7 separate regions of the Homo sapiens genome follow, and all the other regions are linked to region 5. Evidence: promoter capture Hi-C in human tissues and cell types (Jung and others, 2019). All regions are on one chromosome and are shown on one strand. Each heading gives the region's core, a stretch centred on a gene start or on the middle of the fragment in contact. The rest is flanking DNA. Distances are from core to core; before and after follow the strand shown.

Evidence for each region. Contacts are between HindIII fragments. The study calls those that stand out against the background at their distance.
Region 1: a contact is called between a fragment that was not itself captured here and the fragment with the promoter of MYC in region 5, in 2 of the 25 tissues and cell types used here (H1 embryonic stem cells and spleen).
Region 2: a contact is called between a fragment that was not itself captured here and the fragment with the promoter of MYC in region 5, in 1 of the 25 tissues and cell types used here (adrenal gland).
Region 3: a contact is called between a fragment that was not itself captured here and the fragment with the promoter of MYC in region 5, in 1 of the 25 tissues and cell types used here (dorsolateral prefrontal cortex).
Region 4: a fragment that was not itself captured here is called in contact with the fragment with the promoter of MYC in region 5 in 2 of the 25 tissues and cell types used here (aorta and hippocampus).
Region 6: a contact is called between a fragment that was not itself captured here and the fragment with the promoter of MYC in region 5, in 1 of the 25 tissues and cell types used here (H1 embryonic stem cells).
Region 7: a fragment that was not itself captured here is called in contact with the fragment with the promoter of MYC in region 5 in 2 of the 25 tissues and cell types used here (dorsolateral prefrontal cortex and hippocampus).

Annotation. Positions count from the first base shown.
Region 1 is chr8:128,885,088-128,889,006 of GRCh38, forward strand. No RefSeq gene overlaps it. Among named protein-coding and RNA genes, the nearest start is that of LINC00976, 79 kb to the right of the region's middle. The HindIII fragment of the contact is 8,069 bases long and covers 1-3,919 here.
Region 2 is chr8:129,252,436-129,256,339 of GRCh38, forward strand. No RefSeq gene overlaps it. Among named protein-coding and RNA genes, the nearest start is that of LINC00977, 13 kb to the left of the region's middle. The HindIII fragment of the contact is 4,602 bases long and covers 1-3,825 here.
Region 3 is chr8:129,080,987-129,085,096 of GRCh38, forward strand. The region is part of intron 1 of LOC124902023 (a long non-coding RNA gene); the gene reads left to right. Among named protein-coding and RNA genes, the nearest start is that of LINC00976, 120 kb to the left of the region's middle. The HindIII fragment of the contact is 5,866 bases long and covers 1-4,110 here.
Region 4 is chr8:129,178,693-129,182,467 of GRCh38, forward strand. No RefSeq gene overlaps it. Among named protein-coding and RNA genes, the nearest start is that of LINC00977, 61 kb to the right of the region's middle. The HindIII fragment of the contact is 7,709 bases long and covers 1-3,775 here.
Region 5 is chr8:127,734,820-127,738,988 of GRCh38, forward strand. It overlaps MYC (MYC proto-oncogene, bHLH transcription factor), which reads left to right and starts at 1,412. Exons shown (of 3, transcript NM_002467.6): 1 at 1,412-1,804; 2 at 3,429-4,169. The coding sequence starts at 1,775. RefSeq lists a cis regulatory region at 1-640 and a silencer at 1,128-1,317. The HindIII fragment of the contact is 14,684 bases long and covers 1-4,169 here.
Region 6 is chr8:128,832,248-128,836,432 of GRCh38, forward strand. No RefSeq gene overlaps it. Among named protein-coding and RNA genes, the nearest start is that of LINC00976, 130 kb to the right of the region's middle. The HindIII fragment of the contact is 3,977 bases long and covers 1-3,649 here.
Region 7 is chr8:129,502,394-129,506,283 of GRCh38, forward strand. All of the region lies in intron 1 of CCDC26 (CCDC26 long non-coding RNA), which reads right to left. Among named protein-coding and RNA genes, the nearest start is that of MIR3686, 20 kb to the left of the region's middle. The HindIII fragment of the contact is 3,405 bases long and covers 1-3,247 here.

The DNA.
Region 1 (3,919 bases), core at 828-3,327, 1.2 Mb after region 5:
ATAATATGCAAATATAGTATACAAAATAACACCTGATTGGGTGGCTGGCAATTTATGACACCAGGAATAATAGAGGTAAAACCTTTAACATTTTGTTTTTATAATTTATAAGTTTTTCATACGGCTCACAATAAAATCACATATTCAGTCGGATCAATAATCATGAAAACTGAGACAACAGAAGTAACACCGATGGAAGAGAATAAAATTGTAAAAAAAAAAAAAAGGATTATATGGTGACAGTGCTTGAGCTTTTGTCAGGTATTCAGCTTCCAAATAGCTGAAGCAAAAAAGGGAAACATGAAGAATTATAAAAAGTCTCAACTTTTATGCAAGGAACCCCATTTACATTATCTCATTTAAGAGCCACAAATTACTTACAAGGTTAAAAAATGAAGTACACTGGTGTCAAGTATCTTTTCCAGCTTCCATAGCAACCAAGGGCAGACCATAATCCATCTAACTAGAAACTCTATACTCTTTCCACAGCATTGTGCTCAGAATGAGGGGAGTGTCTCGCCCTTTCCCTGCTGCCTCTGTCTAACAAAGATGTGACTCTGATCATCATATAGAAATATAGAATTCCTAAAACCAATATAGAATGCCCAAAGAGCCTGAATAGCCAAAGAAATCCCAAGCAAAAAGAACAAAGCTGGCAGCATCACATTACCCAACTTCAAACTATATTATAAAGCTATAGTTACCAAAACAGCATGGTACTTGTACAAAAATAGACATATAGATGAATGGAACACAATAGAGAAACCAGAATTAAGCCCAGACACCTACAACCATCTGATGGTCAACAAAGTTGATTTAAAAAATCAATAGGGAATGGACTCCCTATTCAATAAATGGTGCTGGAATAACTGGCTAGCCATATGCAGAAGAGTGAAACTGGGCCCCTACTTTTCACCATATACAAAAATTAACTCAATGTATATTAAAGATTTATATGTAAGACCTCAAACTATAAAAATCCTAGAAGAAAACTTAGGAAATACCATTCTGGACATCAGCCTTGGGGAAAAAAAAAGTATGACGAGGTCATCAAAAGCAATTACAACATAACCAAAAATTTACAACTGGGAACTAATTAAACTGTAGAGCTTCTTTACAGCATAATAAACTGTCATGGGCATCAACAAAAAACTTGCAGAATGGGAGAAAGTATTCACAAAATTTGCATCTGACAAAGGTCTAATATCCAGAATCTACAAGGAACTTAAACAATTCAACAAGCAAAAAACAACCCCATTAAAAAGTGGGCAAAGGACATGAACAGACACTTCTCAAAAGAAGACAGCCAACAAACATAGAAAAAAATGCTAAATATCACTAATCATCAGAGAAATGCAAGTCAAAACCACAATGAGATACTGTCTCATGCCAGTTAAATGGCTATCATTAAAAAGTCAAAAAATAATACATGCTGCAGAGGCTGCAAATAAAAGCAAATGGTGGTAATGTAAATTCATTCAACCATGTGGAAAGGAGTTTGGAGATTTCTCAAAGAGCTTAGAACTAACCTTCAATCCAGCAATCCCATTACTGGATATATACCCAAAGGAAAATAAATGATTCTACCAAAACTACACACACACTAGTATGTTCATTGCAGCACTAGTTACAATAACATACATGGAATCAACCTAGCTGACCATCAATGGTGGATTGGATAACGGAAATGTGGTAGGTAGAAAACATGGAATACTACACAGCCATAGAAAAGAACAAAATCATACCCTCTGAAGCAACATGGATGCAGCTAGAGTCCAGTATCCTAAGTGAATTAACACAGCACAGGAACAAAAAAGCAAATACCACATGTTCTCTCTTATAAGTGAGAGCTAAACATTGGATACATATTGGCATAAATATGGGAACAAAACAATAGACATTTGGGACTACTAGATGGGTGAGAGAGAGAGAGCAAAAGTTGAAAAATTACCTATTAGGTACTATGCTCACTACTTGGGTGATAAGATCATTAATACCCCAAAACTCCACATTCAAAATATGCTTTATACAGCTATACATGTAACAAAACTGTATATGTACCCCCTGAATCTAAAATAAAATTTGAAATTATAACAAAAGAGAAACATAGAATCTTTATTGTATTTACTGCCCACAGTCTGCGGACGCAGAATGGAGAGGATTCAGTGTCATGCTACACATGGCTTAACCTATTCAATTTACAACACTCCTTTAACATAAGGATGATCACAAACCCCATTTTATGAACGTAAAACTGAGACACAGACCAGTTGAATGAGTTGTCAGCTATCACGTCATAATCTAATAGATGACATAGCCCATGTGGACGCTACACCATTTGGTTCCAGACCCCAGGTCTCAATTACTACAGTAGATTACCTTAGTAAAGCCTGTGACTTTGATCCCATCTACCTATGAGAAATAAGGAAGCCCGTAAGGCCAGGAAATGCTGGAAAGAAGCAGAGTGGAAATCTAAGACCCCAGTTGAGTTTGGGGTCCTTCCACATAAAAAGCATTTAGTCTGTGTGGTTTGAACCTGAATCACCTGCTAGGGAGGCCTGAAAGGCTCTGATCAGTTGCCAAGGATCCAAAGCCTTTAGAGAAAAGGAGACTAGACCTCAGGATAAAATAGGCTCAGAGGAGTGAGGAGGGAGGTGGGAATGCTTTTTGGTGGAGGAAAGAACATCTTCCCTGGGTATCCTAAAATTCCTTCTCTGGGATTTCCAGGAAGTAAAGAGTATATGTCCCAAGCCAGGATTCTTGGCTCCATTATCTGAGTATACTTACATGTGGTAATTAACATTAATATATCAGTATGATTTCCAAAATCTTAAAATCAATGGCTTAATTCATTGCTTAATGAAAATAAATCTTCTACCAATAGTGTTCTATCCAACTTATCCTTTCTGAGTCATTCTGATGATTATTTCTGTGGGAATTTCTGGATCTCTCATAGTGATGATAATATGTTGATTGACTGATGATTGATTGATTCACAGTCTTGTTGCAGAAATGTTTTAAGCAGCTTCCTTAAAACATAGCAAGTTACTGTAAGTTGGCCCAAGGTAGAGAAGAAAACAAAATTTTTTTAAAGGAAAAAGATTCAGAATGACCTTCCAAATTGCTAGGGAGCGATCACAAATTATTTTAAGCATTACAGCAGTCACTGAAAAACAAGAACAGAATAAAACAAAAAAAAGGTAGTCACACAACTCTATGTGTACATAGTAGATAGAAACGTGCACTAGGTACTTAACATGACTTTTCTCTAATCCTAGCAAAATCTTTGCAAGATAAGTAGCATCATCTCTGTAACTACAGTAGGAATTAGGACAGAAGTCTAGCTCAGTGTTCCACTGATGTAATATTTGAAGCCAAATATATTTAGTTCCCGAGTCTGTGTTCCTGTCAAAGAAAGATGCTGTTTCTCTTCATTGTGCGTGGAGAAGCTTTAGTGGACCTATAACCTAGTGGGTTTTCTTTTTTCTACCTTCCTTTGCAGAGATTCTAGGGAAATGTATGAAGTTGCAAAGTGATTACATTACAGGAGGGCAGCCAGCAAACCTGCCAAGTTGAGTGTGAGTATTTGTTCAATACTTACATCAGGGTGAAGTTCAAAGACATGCAACTCTTGCAAAAAGCCAAGACATAGGTCTTTTAGACTGAGCCCCTTGCAGTTTCTTGAACTAGTTTCTCAAGTCTATTATCTCCACCTGCCACCTCCCTGTGTTCTTGTGAAAGGAAACCCCTCAACCCATATTTTATAAGCTCAAATGAAGCCTTTCCCCCACATACTCTCTCTTACCAGCAGATTCTGTATCTTTTTGTTATACTTGGCTGGACAGTCGTGATTGATACCTGCATACTGCCCTTCTAATCCCAACTGTGTAGCTCCATAGCAATCTCACTTCTGAAAGAG
Region 2 (3,904 bases), core at 275-2,774, 1.5 Mb after region 5:
ACAGCCAACTGATAGGAGCCCTCAGGGAAGGAGCCAAGAAAATAAATACCCCGACCTCATCTTCTTCCTTCTTTCTTATCTTCTGTTGAGTCACCCTATTGGCAAAACCTAATAAGCACTTGAGCCATGTCAATGGCATGCATAGAAGTTGGCTCCTGGAAAAGAGGGCCAATGGAGCAAATAGGCAATCTGGGGGGGGAACGGGAAGATATCCTACACACAAACTTAGTGACAAGTCACATGTATTATTCAGCCTTCAATTTCTTCACCTATAAAGCAGGCAAGTTAGGTTAGAAGATCTTTATAATAACAATAACTAAAAGAATAATAACAATAATAAAAGTTATTTGTTGAGACCTTGTTATATCCCATCCATTCATTTTGTCAAACAGCCTTCAGCATAAATATCATCCCCATTATTCACATGAGAAAACTGAGGCACAGAGAGATATTGTAGGATACTCATTCACATAGCCAATAAATTGTCCAATTTGAAACCATACTTTCCTCCCACGTTTTTGCTTACCATTCCTCAAATCTGGTTGCAATGGCTGGGATAACACCTGCTCGATGTTGCTGCTGTCTTGCAAACTAAACTCAGTCCCAACTACTCATGTTTAGCTTACCTGGTCAGCCCTCTTAGATTTACTAAATGTGCACAGCCCTCCCTAATCTCACACCTAGTTTCTTATGGTCATCAATTTCAGTCAGTGTCTACCCAGTGGATGAATTGAGACATCCTGGAAGATCAGAATGCCAAGGAAATATGGTCCTTCATACCAAACCTCTTTCTTGTTACTATCGTGATATAAGACATGGGAAGGAGTCCCTGTAACGGAGACCTCTGATGAAAGATGTACCCGTGTTTTCCAGGAAACATGTTGGAGGCTGGGTCCTGAAACATGTTATAGGTCTGAACCCTGACATGTTTATTTATTTATTCTGAGCAATTTGCCCAACCCTAGAAGCCTTGTACATCATAACATGGATGTGCTTTCTTAATTATTCATGCCATTAATAATTGACACCATTAATAACACTGCAATACCGTTAATAATTGAGCACATAAAATGGAATTCTCTGGAATTAATTTATTATCATTAATTTTCTCTGCCAGCTTGCTCATTAGAATTGTAGTCAGGCTCTGTGCATCAAATTATTTAACTTCTTCAGGCTTAAAGGCCAAGGAATCATGGAATGCACTTCAACCACTTCCTTTTCTTGCTATTAACAGATCCCCTTTCACCTTTTCGCTCTCTAGGAAAGAGGGGAAAGCTTTTCATAAACAATTCCACAGCATTCAGCATATGCTCACTGCTGGCTTATAAAATGTGGGTTCAAGAATACAAGCAAGGAGGAAAGCTGCCTATGGAGACACACAGCCTTGCAACAAACGTGCTCTCAGGGCTAACAGTGCTCCCAAGCCAGGTCCAGAATTCAGCTCCTTTCTTGCCATAGACCCAATGAGTTGTGGTGCTCACCATCCCTATTTAAAGCTTTGCCACCTATCTGCTCTTCCAGGATCCCTCTTCCTTAAGCTGGACAAGGCAGAATATTCCTACCTCCCTCAATCTCTCCTTGATGCTATCTTTGAAGACAGGCCCACTGACCCTTTTAAGAATTTCAGAGCCAATTACAATAAAGAAACTGAAAGGAGTGAACAAGAATTATCTACGTAGATAATACACACAGGCTCAAATTTTGATGTTAGAGATCCCTAATCCTCACGCAAGGCACTGAAATTTATTGAGACTAATCTCTTTTTCTAGAAATGGGTATAATAACTATGGCAAAGGTAAAAGTGGTAGTCCTGGAGATGCACTGCCCCAGGACCACATTCTAGGGAGGGACCTGATTCCCAGGTAAAGGAAAGTGTTAGCAGACAGCTTCCAGCTGTCAGCTTCTTCAAGATCTGAGCAGGTACACAGAATAACTTATGTTAGGTCACACACTTCCCAGGTAGGATGACCAACTCATTTGGTTTACCTGGGACTTCCCTGGCACCAAGTCCTGCATCCCAGGATGGGTCTCTGTGCTGGAGCTTGACCCTATGGGTACATCTGTAAAAGCAAAGACATTTGCCCTCAACATCTGACAAGGACAATCTTTGTGAAGTTCTGGGTTTATTGTCTGGAACAACAGACAGCAGTTAAGTCTGTTCTTCTCCCCACCCCGACTCCCTGCCCACACCAGCTGAGCTGAGTACAGCTGCCCACAAAACCCACTGGGATATTCTGACAAGAAAATTAATGCATTATATTCCTCCTATGAACTCCCAAAACACACCATAACTTCCTAATGGTGCTCTCTACATTTTGTCTTTTATTATAGCTATTGCTGAACTTGTCTTCCTCTCTCTCGGGGACTGTGAGCCTCAGACCTCATGCCAGTTACTGACACATTTGTGTTTGAAGAAATGAGCAAATGATTGGCACACTGCAACCTACACTTCTCTCTCATATGCCCATTAAACTTTAAGAGAATTCCCAACATCGAGACATTAAACGTATGTGAAAACCTGTGACATTCAAACCTAGGTTCTCTGACCTCCACCTGAAATCCTAAAATCTGTTTTGCTTAACTCTTAGGTTTGTTTGTGCATAAATGAATCTGTTAAATAATAGATGCAAAATCACTTTAGAAATTATTTATGTAAAAGGTTAAAGCTAGAAATACTTCTATATCTGTGTTTAAACATAGTCTAATCCAGTCTTTAAGATAAGCCAACCTTTGTCAATTTGGAATTGCTGTTCCAAATTGTAATGAAGCTTTCTGATAAAAAGAAATAAAGAAATTGATATTATCCAGTACCAGATACTTATTGCTAATCTTCTCTTAATGTATTGCATGGTTCAGTTTGCATTTTAGGAGCTTTGAAAATCTTATCTCTGCATACTGTATTTTCCCTTATGCTTCTGCAGGTATCTATAAATACATATGATCATGTGCTCTAGAATGCAAATTGTGGCTGTTTTCCCATCTCTCTGACCTCATTTAACCTTTCTCCTGGATTTAGTCCTCCTGACTAACCTGAGGGACAAAATTCACAGTTTCACCTGGATGCTTTGATGAAGGATACTTAACCCCAGTGATAGAAATAATCTTATCTCCATTGAAACTTATCAACTATTAATTAGTTCACTCACTGACCAGGGCTCCATCTGCACCAGATGATATTAAATGCTATAAGAAAAGTAAACCTCTGGGATACAGAGGCCCTAGAATTTGAAACTGTTTACTTTCCTGCTATTAGGGTTTGAAATTGTTTACTATCCCAAATTAAGTATAAAACACAGCTTCAACAAAAAATGTTATAGTAAGTATCATCATCTGACATACTATATATTGATTCATTTATGTGTTTATTATATATATGCCTCCAATATAATTTCAATGAGGTTAAGGATTTATGTAAGGAGTACCTATCACAGTAATTTTTTTCCCTGCTAAATGAGTAAATGATGAATTTTGAATTTTCAAACTTGAAACATCTCAAATGGAAAAAACCTCCAAAGCCATCTAGTTCAACTGGCACTCTGCATCTCTGTGAGCAGTTATCATCCTGAATGTGAAACTTTCCAGGAAAAGGGCTCATTATCTCCCAGGAAAGCAGCTCAGTCATTTTGCTTCAATTGTGCCATCAAATAAGTTTACTCACAGGACACTGTTTTCCTAACATCATACTGACTTTTGCATTCATTACAAAGCTATGAGCCTTAGAGCTACCTTTGAGGTTCAAGTCAAAGTTTTTCACAGACAACATTTATAGAATTTCTATTGTGTTCTAGGTGCTTTGCTCACACTAAGGAAGTAATGTTTTGTGTACCCATTTTCTAGATGAGCCAAATGAGCTTTAGAGAGGTTCTTACTAAGGCACTCAGCTAAACAGTGGCAGAGAATTTAG
Region 3 (4,110 bases), core at 684-3,183, 1.3 Mb after region 5:
TTGGTCAATGGTCAATGAGATATAAGCAAGCCTGAAGTGCACAGAGGTATGAAAAGCACTGTGCACTGGGGCTTGTCTTCTCTTGCTGCTGGTAACTCTTCTGCTACCACATGCAGAAACTCAGGATGACCTGCAGGATATATGTTGCCCCACCAGCAGCTAGCACCCATGGCCAGGTGTATGAGTGAAACATCTGCCTTGGCTTGAATGTGGTATTTCCTCCAAAATTAATGTTGAGACCTAATCACCAAAGTGATGGTATTAAAAGGTGGGCCCTCTAGAAGGCTATTATGTCATAGGGTCTCTACCCTTATGAATGGGAGTGGGTGCCCTTATAAAAAGGCTTGCCAGAGGGAGTTCATCCCTTTATGTCCTAATGCCAATGGCAGCAGCATTCAAGGCATCAATTTAAAAGCAGAGACAGAACCCTCACCAGACAATGAAGTTTCCAGCAACTTGATCTTGAACTTCCCAACCTCCATAACTGTGAGAAATACATTTCTGTTCTTTATAAATTACCCAATCTGTTGTATTTTGTTATAGCAACACAAAGGGCATGATTTCATTCTTTTTTTATGGCTGCATAGAATCAAATCATTCAGCTGAATTTGAGATGACAATGGCTGCAGCTGCATAAATGATCCCAGGTGAGACCAGAAGACCTATCCAGCTAATCTCAGCCCAAATTATGACCCAAAGTGTCATGAACAAATAGAATGGTCATCCTTTTAAGTCAATAAGCTTTGGGATGGTTTGCTATGTGGCAAAGGCTAATTGACATAGAAAAAATACCTAGAAGAGTGCTGCTGTCATAAAACCTAAAACAGGAGTGATGAGCTTTGGGAATGGACAGTAGGTGGAGAACGAAAAAGTTGTGAGAAAGCTGTTATTTACATCTTGTAAAGTAGTGAACACAACTTTTTTATGGTCTTGAAAAGTGCTAAGGAAACTGCCTTTGGAAATTGGAAAACAGTTGATTTGTGTTATGCAGCAGTGTCAAATTGTCATCTGAGTTAGCTGAAAGAAAATATTCCTAATGAATTTGCAGATCTGGCTAAGGATATTACCAGGAAGAACTTTGAAAGTGACAATTGGCTTCCATTAGCTGCATCTGAAAAGGCTGGCGAAGCATGAGATGAGCTAAAGAGAGAACTCTTGAGATTGCAAGCAATATTCAAAGGAATTGTAATGTAATCAGAATTTTCTACATTGAAAAATAAAACTGTTTCACAGCTTTAGTCTCTCCAGATAGCAATAAGATTTCTTATGTAAGAAATGGCCTCAGATTAAAGATCAAATCAAGAGTGTGATTTGATATAACTCCTTGTTAAGATCCCTAAAAGATTGAAAGTTGTACTTAGTAGACCCTCTCAGCTAAACAAAATTGCTTTTAAAAATCTTAATTGCATGTTCCCATAGAAGCTTAATCTCAAAACAGCCCTAAAATGTAGTGGGAGAAGGCTTTCCCAAAAAGAATTTTGGCTGTGGATTTTGAGTACTAGACAAAGGGATGTAAGGTGATACATAGCAAACCCAAAAAGGTTTTAAGGAAGTTATACAATCTGAGATTAAAGGAAATTGAGACCGTCCTCTGGACCCTTCCCCCTACCAAAAAAAAATTTTTGTTTTTGATAAGAGGCAGCCTGAAAAAGAAAATAACTACTTTACAAAATTTTTATAGCATGAGGTGCAAACTAATGCAGGAACAGAAAACCAAACACCACATGATCTCACTTATAAGTGGGAGCTGAACAATGAGAACGCACGGACACAGGGAGGGGAACAAAACACACTGGGACCTGTCTGGGGAGGGCTGTGGGTGGGGGAGAGCATCAGGACAAATAGTTAATGCATGCTGGGCTTAACACCTAGGTGATGAGTAGATAGGTGCAGCAAACCACCATGGCACATGTTTACCTATGTAACAAACCTGCACATCCTGCACATATACCCCGAAACTTAAAATAATAAAATAAAATAATAATTTAAAAAAAGAGCACAGGCAAATAGTAGTTTATAGATCCAATCCCATGAGCAAAACCACAGTAGGGGGCCTGACAACACGTACTTGGCTTTATTTTATGATTTATTTTATGATTTGCCTCCCATTCCTTCCTCTTTTGAATGAAAGTACTATGAATGTTTTGTTCCTGTTTCATCATTGTATATTACATATATGAGGGTAGGTAACTTGTCTTTTCATTTGTCATGTCTGAATCAATGGGAATCATAGCCTAGGAGCTACCCTCAAGAAGCTTCATCTGTATCTAGACCTAATGTGGATTATGAGATTAACAGCTTTGGGTCTGATATCATGATTGAATGACATTTTAGGGCTCTCCCTAGGGTGTTAATTTATTTGGCATGTTAGAGGAAAATGAACCACTGGAGTCAAAGAGAAGACTGTAGGCCTCTTATGCATCATGCCTCCCTGTATGTATGTCTTGGGTAATTTCTTCCCATAGTGGCTCTGGGCTTGGCCATGTGACTTATTTTCACCAATGAAACTTTAGGAGACGTGATGCAAGCAGTCACTTGAAAAGTGTTTGTGCATTGGGATTTGCTTTGTTTTGCTGCTGGGGACCCTGCACCCATGTGAAGAATCATGGGCTAGCCTGCTGGAAACACATGACCCAGCTAAAAGCCAGCACATGCCATAGAAGTGAAACGTAAACTGTCTATTCCTAGTTAATCTTCTGTATGACTGAAACTGCATCAGTGATCCAAGGGGCCAAGCAAAACAACTGCCCAGTCCAGGTTGTTGACCTACAGTTTCATGAGAATAAGTTGGTGTTTTAAACTACTGGGCTTTGGAGCATTTTGTTCCTCAGAAAATGCGAATATGGCTTTCCCAAGGTAAAGATATTTAAATCGAGGTATGAAGGTTCAGTGGAGATTCATTACACAAGGGGGAAGAGGAGCAATATTCCAAATAGAGGGAATAGCATGCATAAAGAAGAACCTGAGGAAGGCATGCAGATGCTAAGTTTGAATGTCTAGAAGAACATCAAAGTGGCTAGGACTAGAAGAGTGAAAATAGTATGAAATAAGTTTGGTGAGGCAGAAGTAGCCAGATTACGCATGTCTTCTTTATTCATCTGTTATTGCTACAATACGGCTGCATAATAAACCACCCTAAAATACATTGACTTGCCACAACTATTACCCATCATACTTCTGCCATCAAGTTTGGGATTAACTGCCTAAACTGAGCTCAGCTACACAGCTTTGTTTCAGAATGGGAGTGAGTCCGGGCTTGGCTCCTCACTGTGGTCTGGACTCAGGTCTTGTCTACATGTTTTCATGCTTAGGCCCAGTCTGAAAGGGCAATAGCTGCCTGGAAAACTCTTCTTATGATGATAACAGAGGTGCAAGAGAGAGACCTAACCCTAACCCCAACCCAGCAAGCACATCTATGTTTTCATCTCATCTGCTACTATCCCTTTGACCAAGGTATGTCACATGAATGATTTCAAAGTCAAAGCGAAGGGAGTACTTTCTGCTCACAAATACATCTCACAAAAGTGAGTCACACTGTTCATCACAGCATTATTCATAGTAGCCAAAAAGTGGAAGCAATCCCATTAGAATGAATTTTAAAAATTTATACTGGTACCATAGAATACTCTTCAGCAATAGAAACAAAGCACTGATACATGCTACAACATGAACTTCAAAAACATTATGCTAATGAAAAAAGCTAGATACAGAGGACTACAGATGTGTGATTCCATTTGTATGAAATTTCTAGAAAAGACAAATCTAGAGAGACACAAAGTCTATCAATAGTTGCCTAGGGGAGGCAATGGGGATTTACTGCAAATAGGCACAAGGAAACTACATTAATGGAAATGTTCTAAAACTGGACTTGGATGATGATTGTACAACTGAATCAATTTACTAAAATTTACTGAACTGTTCACTTACAATAATCAAATCTTGTGGCATGTAAATTATATCTCAATACAGGTATTAAAATGTGTAACTAATGGACTGAATGAACTATGTTATGTTTATGACAATGAAACATATTCAAAGGCACTATTAAATGATTGACCTGATACAATTTGGAAATGCTTGCAAAGCTCTAGCTGACTACTGTTTTTCCTT
Region 4 (3,775 bases), core at 275-2,774, 1.4 Mb after region 5:
TTTCTTTTTTTTTTTTTTTTTTTTTTGAGACGAAGTTTCGCTCTTGTTACCCAGGCTGGAGTGCAATGGTGCGATCTTGGCTCACTGCAACCTTCTCCTCCAGGGTTCAAGCGACTCTCCTGCCTCAGCCTCCTGAGTAGCTGGGATTACAGGCGTGTGCCACCATGCTAGGCTAACTTTTTGTATTTTTAACAGAGACGGGGTTTCACCATGTTGGCCAGGCTGGTCGTGAACTCCTGACCTCAGGTGATCCACCCTCCTCGGCCTCCCAAAGTGCTGGGATTACAGGCATGAGCCACTGTGCCCAGCCTATCTTTGTTTCTTTATTACCAAAACACTAAAACACAAAAAGGCATTAAGAAAAATGGAATGCAAACTCTTTTGCATCCATAACTCAACTTGGGAAATTTAAAAAGCAAATCACCAATCATTGTAGCTCTCCCTGATCACAATGTGCTTCTTCCTGAAGGCATAATTTCTTTTCAGCACTTCTGCTATGAAGTATCCTTCTTTGTATATTGGATCACAGCGACTGTTTGAATCATCCCCTTCTTGTCCACCCAGCTCTCATTGTAAACGTTGAAACTGAGGCCCAAAGAGGAAAAATGGCTTTGCAAGTTCAAACAATACTATTATCCAGGTTTGGGAGCCCCGTTTCAGTGCTTCCTTGTATCATGCTGCCCTTGCAAAAATGAAACACTCCTTTGCTACAAGTATCTATTTTTATTTGTTTTCCTAAACAATGGAATCATAGCAATTGAATTCGTTTGGAAATGATGGAAGAAAAGTATAAATTTAACTTGAGTTCATCTATGCCTAATGCATCAGAAATTATAAATTATCTTCTAAGAGTAAACTGAAAAGTGTTCCAACCTTACTTAGCAACTAGGAATTAGAGGGAACACATAGGCAGGCCATGGAAGAAACCATATTTTCCCTCTTTTCAAATGGAACCCCTCAGGTCCCCAACATTCCTAACACTGAGGGATGAGTTTGTACTTGACAAATGACTGCCTGGATGAGAGGCCCCCATTCATTACCCATAGCCTCAAGAATGGGCCCTGGTGAAAAGTGCTTAGAAACAGTTTGTGCGGAAGCAGGGCCCTTCTGATTCCATTTATCAGTGGTATCTTTTGAAGTGGCTTCCTTCAACCTTGGCAGAAGCTCAGAGTGCCACCAGCGTAGGAAGAACTGCCACCCACAGGCTCCATGAGGCTTCTCAAGGCGTGGGGTAGGTGGAGGGGGCACCTCACAGCTGGAGTGGGGCTTTGCTGAAGACGAGACTTAACCAAGGAAAAAGAGAATAGAGACCCACTGACTCATGGCTTTGGCCACTTCCAAGTTATTAGGAATTTCCTGGACCAGGGATTGCACACAGAGTTTTTCCTTCTGGGATAAGATAAGTCACTGGGGCCTTTTTCTTAAACAGGAAGGGAGAAAGAGATTCACTGCCACGATGTTTTAGGGACATTATCAATACAAGCTTTGTGTATTTACCATTAACCCCTTCAGATCCATTTTCACCCTTCTTCACCCAACTGTGCTGCCCATGAACCTGACATTTTAGAGGCCGTATCTGTGAGCCCTTGCCACTGGGCTGCCAGTTAGCTTTGGCCAGTTGGAGGCATTTAGTAAGAGATAGGAAGAGCTGGAAAAGAGTAAGGTCACAGTACTTATTCCTGCAGCCCACTTTCTGCCAGCTCACCATGGGTCTATTGAGTGCCTGTCCAGTGGTCAAGTCACTAACAAGCAGTTCTCTCCATAGGACAACCCTTTCCTCTAAGTCTAAGAGTGGCAGTCAGAGTGGCAGGATGGGCACATGGCCGATGCTAGGCCAATCAGATTTTTTTCCTCAGGAATTTGAATCTTAAACTAAGTGAGACAGAACTGAAGAAGTCAGAGCCTGTTGACACCTGTGTTGGAGCCTTGAATTAAACAATGTTCAGTGTCTCCTAATAGATTCCCAGGGCTACCTTGGTTTCCTTGGTTCTATTGGTTTTATTTTGTTTTGTTTTGAGACAAAGTTTTGCTTTTGTTGCCCAGGCTGGAGTGCAATGTCACGATCTTGGCTCACTGCAACTTCCACCTCCCAGGTTCAAGCAATTCTCCTGCCTCAGCCTCCCGAGTAGCTGGAACCACAAGCGCCCACCAACACGCCCGGCTAATTTTTTGTATGTTTAGTAGAGACGGGGTTTCACCAGATTGGCCAGGCTGGACTTGAACTCCTGACCTTGTGATCCACCCACCTCGGCCTCCCAAAGTGCTGGGTTTACAGGCCTGAGCCACCATGCCCAGCCTGTTCTATTCTTTTTCAAGTTGTGGTTCTTCGGTGATTCCTTTAACTTGAATGTGATTCATGCACATTCAAGTAAAAAGGAAGCTATAACTGAAGAAACTGAAGCTCAGAGCATTGTAGTAACTTGTCCAAGGCCACACAGCTAGTAAGTTAAAAAACGTGAGATTCAAATTCAGGTTCATTTCCAAAACACCACACTGCTTAGATGGAGGCAGGTTTTAGTAGTTTGTAACTTGTATAAAGAGAATTGAGGAAGGCAATCTAATTGTTAAAAGCTGAGTTGGGCAAGTGGATGACATATGCCTAGTACCTGGACAAAGGGAATACAGCATAGAGAGAAATTTAGAACCAATAAAATTATATTTTATACATTATGTGGCCTCCAGAAGATCAACCAGTGATCAACCTATAAAACTATGGTCGTTTGCAGCGGACTTTTTATTTTGATTGTTAATTCTCTTTCTCCTTTTTCATTGCTTGCTCTCTCTTCTGAAAGACTACAGGAAAAAAAGAAAAGCTGGTATTTATACCTTACTGACAATGGGATTTTATTGCATATGGTATCTCAATTTTTACAATTATCCTGTGCAGAGACTATTTTCATGCCATTTCTCAGGGACAGGAAATTAAGGGCTTCATTTTCCAGGGTCTTACGCCGTAATTGTGAAAAAACAAGCTCAGGACTCAGAATTTTGTCCATCAGCTCTTTCTCTATTGCACCGATATTTCTCAAAAAGGATGCTCCTGGCATCAGGGATGTGTTCATGGGACGATTCTTTACATTATAGGTTGTTCATCATCCTTTGCTCCTTCTTCCTTTATTCTAGTGGTACTATCCTCAAATCCTTGAGATAATCACAAAATTATTACCCCTGGTTGAGAACCTCAACACCACACATACCTATTAATATATTTCTTCTATCCCTTTCTCTCCTTGAATCCCTACATCCATCCTTTTGGCTTTCTAAACATATTGGGAAATATCTTTGTTGCTGTTTTTGAGAGGTAATAGATGGTGACAGCTAGCAGAGGATTGGGTATGTGGTCCTATATGAGGAAATCCTGGTACCTGAAGATGCAAAGTCTTCTAACCTCTGCTAGCTGCCTTGTGAGACGTCAGTGATAAGGAGTCATAATTCTAGAGGCCTAATTGGCACCTGGGACTTACCATAGAATGCTCTAATTTGTTTGAAATTTAAATGTATATGTTGATAGCATCATATAATTTAAGAGTTTAGTTAGTAAACAGATATTTATTGAGCATATAATATATACCTAGCATTGTCCTAGTTACTGTGAATACAGTGGTGTCTTGGTTCATTCAGGCTGCTACAACAAGAATATCATAGACTGGGTAATTTGTGAAAAACAAAAATTTATTTCTCACAGTTCTGGTGGCTGGAAAGTCCAAAATCAAGGCACCAGGAGATTCAGTGTCCTGTGAGGGGTGTGTCTGCTACATGGATGGTACCTTCTTGC
Region 5 (4,169 bases), core at 162-2,661:
CATTTTTTGTGCATGACCGCATTTCCAATAATAAAAGGGGAAAGAGGACCTGGAAAGGAATTAAACGTCCGGTTTGTCCGGGGAGGAAAGAGTTAACGGTTTTTTTCACAAGGGTCTCTGCTGACTCCCCCGGCTCGGTCCACAAGCTCTCCACTTGCCCCTTTTAGGAAGTCCGGTCCCGCGGTTCGGGTACCCCCTGCCCCTCCCATATTCTCCCGTCTAGCACCTTTGATTTCTCCCAAACCCGGCAGCCCGAGACTGTTGCAAACCGGCGCCACAGGGCGCAAAGGGGATTTGTCTCTTCTGAAACCTGGCTGAGAAATTGGGAACTCCGTGTGGGAGGCGTGGGGGTGGGACGGTGGGGTACAGACTGGCAGAGAGCAGGCAACCTCCCTCTCGCCCTAGCCCAGCTCTGGAACAGGCAGACACATCTCAGGGCTAAACAGACGCCTCCCGCACGGGGCCCCACGGAAGCCTGAGCAGGCGGGGCAGGAGGGGCGGTATCTGCTGCTTTGGCAGCAAATTGGGGGACTCAGTCTGGGTGGAAGGTATCCAATCCAGATAGCTGTGCATACATAATGCATAATACATGACTCCCCCCAACAAATGCAATGGGAGTTTATTCATAACGCGCTCTCCAAGTATACGTGGCAATGCGTTGCTGGGTTATTTTAATCATTCTAGGCATCGTTTTCCTCCTTATGCCTCTATCATTCCTCCCTATCTACACTAACATCCCACGCTCTGAACGCGCGCCCATTAATACCCTTCTTTCCTCCACTCTCCCTGGGACTCTTGATCAAAGCGCGGCCCTTTCCCCAGCCTTAGCGAGGCGCCCTGCAGCCTGGTACGCGCGTGGCGTGGCGGTGGGCGCGCAGTGCGTTCTCGGTGTGGAGGGCAGCTGTTCCGCCTGCGATGATTTATACTCACAGGACAAGGATGCGGTTTGTCAAACAGTACTGCTACGGAGGAGCAGCAGAGAAAGGGAGAGGGTTTGAGAGGGAGCAAAAGAAAATGGTAGGCGCGCGTAGTTAATTCATGCGGCTCTCTTACTCTGTTTACATCCTAGAGCTAGAGTGCTCGGCTGCCCGGCTGAGTCTCCTCCCCACCTTCCCCACCCTCCCCACCCTCCCCATAAGCGCCCCTCCCGGGTTCCCAAAGCAGAGGGCGTGGGGGAAAAGAAAAAAGATCCTCTCTCGCTAATCTCCGCCCACCGGCCCTTTATAATGCGAGGGTCTGGACGGCTGAGGACCCCCGAGCTGTGCTGCTCGCGGCCGCCACCGCCGGGCCCCGGCCGTCCCTGGCTCCCCTCCTGCCTCGAGAAGGGCAGGGCTTCTCAGAGGCTTGGCGGGAAAAAGAACGGAGGGAGGGATCGCGCTGAGTATAAAAGCCGGTTTTCGGGGCTTTATCTAACTCGCTGTAGTAATTCCAGCGAGAGGCAGAGGGAGCGAGCGGGCGGCCGGCTAGGGTGGAAGAGCCGGGCGAGCAGAGCTGCGCTGCGGGCGTCCTGGGAAGGGAGATCCGGAGCGAATAGGGGGCTTCGCCTCTGGCCCAGCCCTCCCGCTGATCCCCCAGCCAGCGGTCCGCAACCCTTGCCGCATCCACGAAACTTTGCCCATAGCAGCGGGCGGGCACTTTGCACTGGAACTTACAACACCCGAGCAAGGACGCGACTCTCCCGACGCGGGGAGGCTATTCTGCCCATTTGGGGACACTTCCCCGCCGCTGCCAGGACCCGCTTCTCTGAAAGGCTCTCCTTGCAGCTGCTTAGACGCTGGATTTTTTTCGGGTAGTGGAAAACCAGGTAAGCACCGAAGTCCACTTGCCTTTTAATTTATTTTTTTATCACTTTAATGCTGAGATGAGTCGAATGCCTAAATAGGGTGTCTTTTCTCCCATTCCTGCGCTATTGACACTTTTCTCAGAGTAGTTATGGTAACTGGGGCTGGGGTGGGGGGTAATCCAGAACTGGATCGGGGTAAAGTGACTTGTCAAGATGGGAGAGGAGAAGGCAGAGGGAAAACGGGAATGGTTTTTAAGACTACCCTTTCGAGATTTCTGCCTTATGAATATATTCACGCTGACTCCCGGCCGGTCGGACATTCCTGCTTTATTGTGTTAATTGCTCTCTGGGTTTTGGGGGGCTGGGGGTTGCTTTGCGGTGGGCAGAAAGCCCCTTGCATCCTGAGCTCCTTGGAGTAGGGACCGCATATCGCCTGTGTGAGCCAGATCGCTCCGCAGCCGCTGACTTGTCCCCGTCTCCGGGAGGGCATTTAAATTTCGGCTCACCGCATTTCTGACAGCCGGAGACGGACACTGCGGCGCGTCCCGCCCGCCTGTCCCCGCGGCGATTCCAACCCGCCCTGATCCTTTTAAGAAGTTGGCATTTGGCTTTTTAAAAAGCAATAATACAATTTAAAACCTGGGTCTCTAGAGGTGTTAGGACGTGGTGTTGGGTAGGCGCAGGCAGGGGAAAAGGGAGGCGAGGATGTGTCCGATTCTCCTGGAATCGTTGACTTGGAAAAACCAGGGCGAATCTCCGCACCCAGCCCTGACTCCCCTGCCGCGGCCGCCCTCGGGTGTCCTCGCGCCCGAGATGCGGAGGAACTGCGAGGAGCGGGGCTCTGGGCGGTTCCAGAACAGCTGCTACCCTTGGTGGGGTGGCTCCGGGGGAGGTATCGCAGCGGGGTCTCTGGCGCAGTTGCATCTCCGTATTGAGTGCGAAGGGAGGTGCCCCTATTATTATTTGACACCCCCCTTGTATTTATGGAGGGGTGTTAAAGCCCGCGGCTGAGCTCGCCACTCCAGCCGGCGAGAGAAAGAAGAAAAGCTGGCAAAAGGAGTGTTGGACGGGGGCGGTACTGGGGGTGGGGACGGGGGCGGTGGAGAGGGAAGGTTGGGAGGGGCTGCGGTGCCGGCGGGGGTAGGAGAGCGGCTAGGGCGCGAGTGGGAACAGCCGCAGCGGAGGGGCCCCGGCGCGGAGCGGGGTTCACGCAGCCGCTAGCGCCCAGGCGCCTCTCGCCTTCTCCTTCAGGTGGCGCAAAACTTTGTGCCTTGGATTTTGGCAAATTGTTTTCCTCACCGCCACCTCCCGCGGCTTCTTAAGGGCGCCAGGGCCGATTTCGATTCCTCTGCCGCTGCGGGGCCGACTCCCGGGCTTTGCGCTCCGGGCTCCCGGGGGAGCGGGGGCTCGGCGGGCACCAAGCCGCTGGTTCACTAAGTGCGTCTCCGAGATAGCAGGGGACTGTCCAAAGGGGGTGAAAGGGTGCTCCCTTTATTCCCCCACCAAGACCACCCAGCCGCTTTAGGGGATAGCTCTGCAAGGGGAGAGGTTCGGGACTGTGGCGCGCACTGCGCGCTGCGCCAGGTTTCCGCACCAAGACCCCTTTAACTCAAGACTGCCTCCCGCTTTGTGTGCCCCGCTCCAGCAGCCTCCCGCGACGATGCCCCTCAACGTTAGCTTCACCAACAGGAACTATGACCTCGACTACGACTCGGTGCAGCCGTATTTCTACTGCGACGAGGAGGAGAACTTCTACCAGCAGCAGCAGCAGAGCGAGCTGCAGCCCCCGGCGCCCAGCGAGGATATCTGGAAGAAATTCGAGCTGCTGCCCACCCCGCCCCTGTCCCCTAGCCGCCGCTCCGGGCTCTGCTCGCCCTCCTACGTTGCGGTCACACCCTTCTCCCTTCGGGGAGACAACGACGGCGGTGGCGGGAGCTTCTCCACGGCCGACCAGCTGGAGATGGTGACCGAGCTGCTGGGAGGAGACATGGTGAACCAGAGTTTCATCTGCGACCCGGACGACGAGACCTTCATCAAAAACATCATCATCCAGGACTGTATGTGGAGCGGCTTCTCGGCCGCCGCCAAGCTCGTCTCAGAGAAGCTGGCCTCCTACCAGGCTGCGCGCAAAGACAGCGGCAGCCCGAACCCCGCCCGCGGCCACAGCGTCTGCTCCACCTCCAGCTTGTACCTGCAGGATCTGAGCGCCGCCGCCTCAGAGTGCATCGACCCCTCGGTGGTCTTCCCCTACCCTCTCAACGACAGCAGCTCGCCCAAGTCCTGCGCCTCGCAAGACTCCAGCGCCTTCTCTCCGTCCTCGGATTCTCTGCTCTCCTCGACGGAGTCCTCCCCGCAGGGCAGCCCCGAGCCCCTGGTGCTCCATGAG
Region 6 (4,185 bases), core at 411-2,910, 1.1 Mb after region 5:
GAGAAGATGTATTGTATCTATTAGAGGTTATAGCCCATTGCACTGTAAGCTTTTCCAAGAGAGAAAGAAACAACAACAATGATTTGTTCCCTGGAGAAAAGTATGCCCACCAGTGACTGGTAGAATGAGCCACATGATCACACTCCTTTTCTCCCTGCAATTACAGTACAACAAATGCTCTAAACTAATCAGCAGACAAATGACTGTTACAATCTGCTTCAGCAGCCTACATTTCAGAGCGAATATTTAAAGCCTTGGTCTTTTCTAGGCAAATTCTTTTGAACTTCTGTCCTAAGCACAGAGCTGTTAACAGTTTCCCTAGATAAATAAGATCCTGATGTGATGGTAATACCATCACTGTGATATATTTATTGTTCAATTTTCCTAGACCATTTCAGGCAACGAGTTTATAGAGCAGTCATATTATTGCTTATGTGCAATAGGCTAGCATACGTTTTTTACATGCTTGTCACCAACAAGAAGATGCTGTTTCATTCTTTTGTACTAGAAATTGTTATTCTCTTTAAATTGGGGAAAAGTAAACAATAGAGATGAAGAGCTCTTGAGTTGGTAAAGGAGAGTTTCCCAAATCACCCTGTTCTGTTCTTTAGGTTTACAATCCATTTAAATTCTCCATTACAAGTATATATCCTTACAAGTATATAGGTATATAATACAGCTCAGTGAAATTAAGTGACTAAAACCCATGCTGCCTGATACTGAGATAGCCAGTCTTGCATAGAGAAGCTAGAGTTAAATGGCGTCCATGCGTATCACCAAAGGAAAATGTGAATATTGAGAGCTAGATCTGCATGAGTTTAAATTTCAGTGAGAGCTTCCACTATCCCAGAATTCTTGATATTTTTATTGGGTTAGGAGAAAAATAAACTTTAAAGGTGTGTGTGTGTGTGTGTGTGTGTGTAAAGTGGAAGAACAGAATTCACAGAATAAAGCTTCAGCAGAATATGGAGGTGCTAACTGACAACTCTGAGAAAAGGAAGCTCAAGGGACACTAAAAACAATCCCATCTGCCTTTGTGAAAAAGTGAATCTGAATGAAGGAGCAGTCAGGTTTCAATGCTCCATGAGCCAGAAGAACCCCATCTCTGGTGCCTGGTCTCTGAGAACACTTAGCAGTGACTAGATTCCCCCTATACATGCTCTCTCCATTACTCCAGTAACTGGAGCCAGCTTTTATGGCATGAGAAGAGCGGCATCCAGGGTAAAGCTGTGCTGGGTCCCACACTAGCTGGGGACTTGCAAATACCATTTGACATCTGTTTTTGCTCTGTATAGCATGCTCCTGTGTGTATATTTCTAGTATACGCTAGGGTTTAGTATCTGCTGTTGGGATAGGGGAGACACTTCTGGTGAAAAAAAATAAGAATGAATTATTTAGGGAATTTCAGAGGTAAGCTACATAAGCAAATGTGTATACATATATATATAATAGAGGTAAGCTACATAAGCATATACACTATATATATATATATATATATATATATATATATATATATATATATATATATATATATAATAGTTCTCTGGCTTGCTGAAACAAAATAAAAGTTAAATAATTAGCTGTAGAGAAAAAAGAGCTCCAGAATTGGTCTAGGGATCTAGTTGGAAGGATCCAATGAACAGTTATTTCAGGACACCATGGATGAGATAAATCTATGATGGGATTTCAGCATTTGTACCACTCCATTTAAGGAGAAAGCATTTTATTGATGTAGCTTGGACACCCAGCCCACCCGTTTTCTGGAAGAGGTCAGGCCAACTTGATTGTCTTTCCATGGTACTATGGTGTAGGGCAAGCTTATCCAACCCATGGTCTGTGGGCTGCGTGCAGCCCAGGATGGCTTTGAATGTGGCCCAACACAAATTTGTAAGCTTTCTTAAAACATTATGAGATTTTTCTCTTTTTTTTTCATATTTTTTTCAGCTCATCTGCTACTGTTAGTGTTAGTGTATTTTTTGTGTGTCTCAAGACAATTGTTCTTCCAATGTGGCCCAGGGTATCCAAAATTGGAAACCCTTGGTATAGGGGGAATCCCTCAAGTGACACACAATGCACTGAATAAGAAAAGGGGTAAAGGATGCTAGGTAGAAACAGAGAAGACATCATGGTCATTAGAGGAGTGGAAGATATGGTACTTAGTACAGATGAGGCAAGAAAATAAAAGCAAAACATAAAAACAAAAGGAAAAGATGAAGTATAAAGAGAAAACCAAGAAGACAAAAAGAGAAATAAAAGAAAATAGCTGGAAAAGTAGAAAAGAATAAAGAGGAAAAAGCCATTGAAAAGAGAACCATTTACTCTAATCCTTGGTCAATGACTGACATCAATATTATTACTTTCTTTAACTGAAGAAATTGAGGTTTAGTGAATATGAGTGACTTGCTAATAAGCACACAGAGTAGAGTTGGCAGAATTGGTCAAAACCAAGAGTTTTTCTATTGTAGAATTTTCCCCTTGCAATCATCTTTTTGTCCAGAGACTATGAAAGAGATCTCCACCAAGCCCAAAAATGTTTTAATAATCAAAGAGAATTACCCATTTTTTACAGTTATTGTGTACTAACTGGAAGGCAGGCCACACTGGTCAAAAGCCAACTCAATTCAATTCTGTATTAAAGGACAAGCCATGTGCTGCTGAATTACAGGGACAGGGAAGTCAGATGTCAAATTGGGAGGGGCTAGAGGGAATCAATGCAGTAGATTTTTAAGACTGAGTTCTCCAGGTGGCAGCCAGCAGACAGAAATAGCCTGTTTCTAACTTAAGGAAATTTATAGCCCTAGGGGACTGCATATCAGAGGTTAACTCACATACATGTCACAGGTTAATGCTATAAAACGGTGGTTTGGAATCAAGAACACAACTGGACATGCTCAATGTGCATATGGCAAAATGCTACAAGATGCCATTAATATATTGAATGAAATAATCAGAAACCCAATGACTTCTACATCCAAAAAAAAAAAAAAAAAGAGCCAACTATTAAAAGGAAGCATGAAGTAGGGCTCTCAGTAATGTCCTAAAATGAGATCTTCCAGTTTTGGGTCTTAGAGAAATCCAAGATCCATATGCACTCATGGTGTAATATCGCTACCACAAAACTAATTTAAACTAGGCTTTCAACTAAAGAAAACAAATGTCCACAATTAAGGAAGAAAGAGTCTACCACCCTTGCAGGAGTCCTGTTAATTAGCTACAGTTACGTCCCTTAAATGATTTGAACAATAACACCCTTCTGGTGTCATAGCACTTTATCTCCTTAAAGTGTGATTTCCAGCCAAGTACCTAGAATTGAATGAGAGTTCTCTGTTAGGAAGAGCAACACAGAAGAAGAAGCTACCATGAGCATAAATTCAACCTGGAGGAAGTCTGATTTGCTGCATTTTTTCGGGGGCTACAGTTGGTCTTCAAGCACCTGGGATGATTGAATTGGTTCTGTGACGTCTCAGCTGCCCTCCTGCTAATGTTGAGGGATAATCTACACATATTTAGAAGAAGAGACCCAGAGAAATCATGTCATCCAACTCCATGTTTTCTGAGAAAATAGAAAATCGAGGAGAAGTTGCTTCCTGACCACTGTAGAAACAGAGGCTAGAATTTTGGCTAACTTGAAATTCAGTGCTCTATTACTTCACTCTTTCAGCAACATCCTCTGCCTTGAATGTACAGCCAACTACCTGGTTATCGCTTTTTCTGAATACAACCAAACATATACGTGTGACTGGCTTCACAGATTAACCAAGCAGAAGTCAACACACCAGATTTCTTGATTATATTACAGAAATTCTTCTCCTGTTTAGCATATAAAGGCACTCTCTCTATTTCATCAGACTATACTCAATGCAGATTTTCTACAAATGTCCCAGGCTCCAAATAAACCTGATTATATCCAGTGGAATATAGGTAGTTTATCTAATGAAAAGCAGGTAGGGAAACTAATGGAAATCAGGAAGCCATTTTAAAATAAATGAATTGGTTTTGTTTCCTTTGGGTTTCGATTTCAGCAGAGGAAATATTTGGAAAGCCACCTTGATCTCTGTAAGGCTGCTTCCTGCTGTAAAGTATTAATGTGTCCCCATCTCTTATTCCACTTGCTCTCTCCCCAACCCATTTATCTGCCTAGATCTCTTTCAATATTCAAAACTTCTCTTAACTGTTACTACTCCA
Region 7 (3,890 bases), core at 295-2,794, 1.8 Mb after region 5:
TTCATGTCATTAGAGTTCTGAAAGAAAAGGAAAAAGGGGGTGTGTCTGAAAAAAGTTCAAAGAAATAATGACCTCATGCCAAATTTGTTAAAATGCATAAATCTACAGATTCAAGAAGCTAAGTGAATTGCAAACAAAATAAACACACAAAAATACATGCCAAGAGCCATCACAGTAAAGCTTCTGAAAGTTTAAAACAGAGAAAAATAATGAAATCAGGGTGATAAGGATGACATCTTACCCATGGGGAAGAATTTGAATGAAAGTATATTTCTTATCAGAAACTATGGAAATCAGAAGGAAATGTAACAATATTTGTTAAGTGAAATAAAAGAATTGTTAAACCAGATCCTATATTTAAGGAAAATACACTTCAAAAGTGAAGGGGAACTCAAGACATTCTGATGTAGAAAAACTGAGAATTTGTCAGCAACAGACATGTCATAAAAGAATAGCTAAAGAAAGTTCTCTCAACAGAAAGAAAATGATTAAACAATCAATCTTAGAACATCAAGAAAGAGGCCAGGCACAGTGGCTCACGCCTGTAATCCCAGCACTTTAGGAGGCTGAGGCAGATGGATCATGAGGTCAGGAGTTTGAGACCAGCCTAGCCAACATGGTGAGACCCCGTCTCTACTAAAAATACAAAAATTAGCCAGGTATGGGGGTGCACACCTGTAGTCCCAGCTACTATGGAGGCTGAGGGAGAAGAATCACTTGAACCTGGGAGGCAGAAGTTATAGTGAGCCAAAATCACACCACTGCCCTCCAGCCTGGGCAACAGAGTGAGACTCTCTCAAAAAAAATTTTTTTTAAAAAAAAAGAACATTAAGAAAGAAAAAAGAAAACAGTAGGCAAAAATATAGGTAAATACAATGGACTGTCACTTCACTCTGGAGTTCTCTAAAGTTATGCTTAATAGTAGAAGTGAAAATTATAAAGCTCTCTGATATAGGTCTCAATATATGTGGAAGAAATGTTTATAATATAATATACCTAGAGTAACCACTTAAAAAGCTATATAGGCCAGGTGCGGTGGCTCACGCCTGTAATCCCAGCATTTTGGGAGGATGAGGCAGGCAGATCACAAGGTCAGGAATTCCAGACCAGCCTGGCCAACATGGTGAAATCCCATCTCTACTAAAACTAGAAAAATTAGCTGGGTGTGGTGGCGGGCGCCTGTAATCCCAGCCACTCAGAAGGCTGAGGCAGGAGAATCGTTTGAACTCAAGAGGCAGAGGTTGCAGTGAGCCAAGATCTGGCCATTGCACTCCAGCCTGGGTGACAAGGCAAGACCCTGTCTCAAAAATAAAAAACAACAACAACAAAATAAAGCTATATAAACACTCAAAAATACTATACATCAAAATGGAATTCTAAAAAGTATTTAAGTAACTATAGAAAAGCAAGAAGCAAGTATAAACTTGAAAAACTGATGTAAAAAACAGAAAACAAAAAAAATTCTAGTAATAAGCACTACAATATAAGTGATTACAAAATGTAAATTTTAGGCCAGCTGTGGTGGCTCACGCCTGTAATCCCACCACTTTGGGAGGCTGAGGTGGGTATATAGTCTGAGGTCAGGAGGTCAAGACCAGCCTGGCCAACATAGTGAAACCTCATCTCCACTAAAAATACAAAATTAGTCAGGTGTGGTGGCAGGCACCTGTAATCCCAGCCACTTGGGAGGCTGAGGCAAGAGAATCACTTGAACCTGGGAGGCAGAGGTTGCAGTGACTCAAGTTCGGGCTGTTGCACTCCAGCCTGGGCAACAAAAGTGAAACTCTGTCTCAAAAAAAATAAATAAATAAATGTAAATTATATTAAATAAATCAATTCAAAGAGATTGGCAGAGTGGGTTAAAAACATAACTCATTTATATGCTGTTTACAAGAAACTCACTTCATATATAAATATTAAAAGAATAAAAAAGATCTACAAACTAAGCAAAGAAAGACTTAAGTAACTATATCAATATCAGATAAAGTAGATAAAGTAAACTTCAGAGCAAAGCAAATTATCATAGACACAGAGGGACATTATATGATGAAAAGGTCAATTCAGCAAGAAGACATAGCAATCCTAAAGTATATAGACAACAGTACTGCAAATTATGTGTAGCAAAAGCTAATAGAATTAAAAAAAAATTTAAAAATATAGTTGAATAATTTAACACCTCTCTCTCAAAAATTGATGGAACTAGATAGAAAATTATCAAAGTATAGTAGATTCAAAACACAATCAAATGTCATAATCTAATTGACCTTTATAGAACACTCCACCCAACTGAAGCATAATACACATTATTTTTCAGTTTCCATAGAACACATACCAAAATAGATCACATCCTGGGCCATAAAACAAATGTAGAAGAATTGAGATCATACAGAATGTATTCTCCAGCCATGATGGAATACAACAGAAATCAGTAACAGAAGGTAACCGGAAAATACCCAAGGAACAAAAAGGAAGGTAATGTTTCTACACATTGCTTAAACTGGTGAAGTGATGGTATCAGCAGACTGTGGTAAATTATAGAAAAAGATAGATAGATGATAAATAATGGATGGACAGATAGATAGACATACAGATAAACAATATACTTCTAAATAAGCCATGAGTCAAAAAGGAAATCTAAGGGAAAATTTAAAAATTCATTAACCTGAATAAAAATTAAAATACTGAATATCAAAACTTGTTGTAGACAGCTAAAGCAATGCTGAGAAAAAATATATAGCATTAAGTGCATACATTTAAAAAGAAAAGCCATATATAACAGACCCACAGCTAATATCATACTGAATGGGGAAAAACTGAAAGACTTTCCTCTGAAATCTGGACTATGACAAGGATATCTACTATCACCATTGTAATTCAAAATAATACTAAAAGTCCTAGCTAGAACAATAAGACAAGATAAAGAAATAAAGGACATACAAATTGAAAACAAGTAAATCAAATTATCCTTCTTTGCAGATGATATGATCTTATGTTTGAAACAAATCTAAAGACTCCACCAAAATACTATTAGAACTGATAAACAAATCCAATAAAGCTTCAGGGCACAAAATCAACGTACAAAAATTAGTAGCATTTTTATATGCCAACAGCAATCTGAAAACAAAAATCAAGAAGGTAATCCCATTTAAAAGAGCTACAAATAAAATTAGATACCTAGGGATTAACTTAACCAAGGAAATGAAAGATCTCTCCAACAGAAATTATAAAACATATATGTAAGAAATTGAAGAGGGCACAAAAATTTGAAAGATATTCTATGTTCAAGGATTAGAAGAATCAATATTGTTAAGATGTCTATACTACCCAAAGTAATCTACAAACAATGCAATCTCTATTGAAACACCAAGGATATTCTTCACAGAAATAGACACAATTCTAAGATGTATATGGAACCACAAAAGATGCAGAATAACCAAAGCTTTTCTAAGCAAAAAGAACAAAACTAGAGGAGTCACATTGCCTGACTTCAAATTATACCATAGAAAAAAAAATCCTACATTTAAAATAACTAAAAGACCGAAAACTATTGAAAAAAATTTTAATAACAGAAACAGCATAATTGGATTGTTAAAAACACAAAGGATAAATGCTTGAGGGGATGGATACCCCATTTACCCTAATGTGATTATCATGCATTGTGTGCCTGTATTAAAATATCTCATGTAACACATAAATATATACATCCACTATGTAGCCACAAGATTTAAAATTAAAAATTTAAGAAATAAAAAGAATAAAAGTCTTAAATTAATGGCTAAGCTCCCATCTCAATAACTCAGGAAAGAAGAACAATATAAATGCAAAGCAAGAAGGAAAGAAATAACAAAGTAAAAACAGAAACCGATTATATTGAAGGCATAAAACCAATA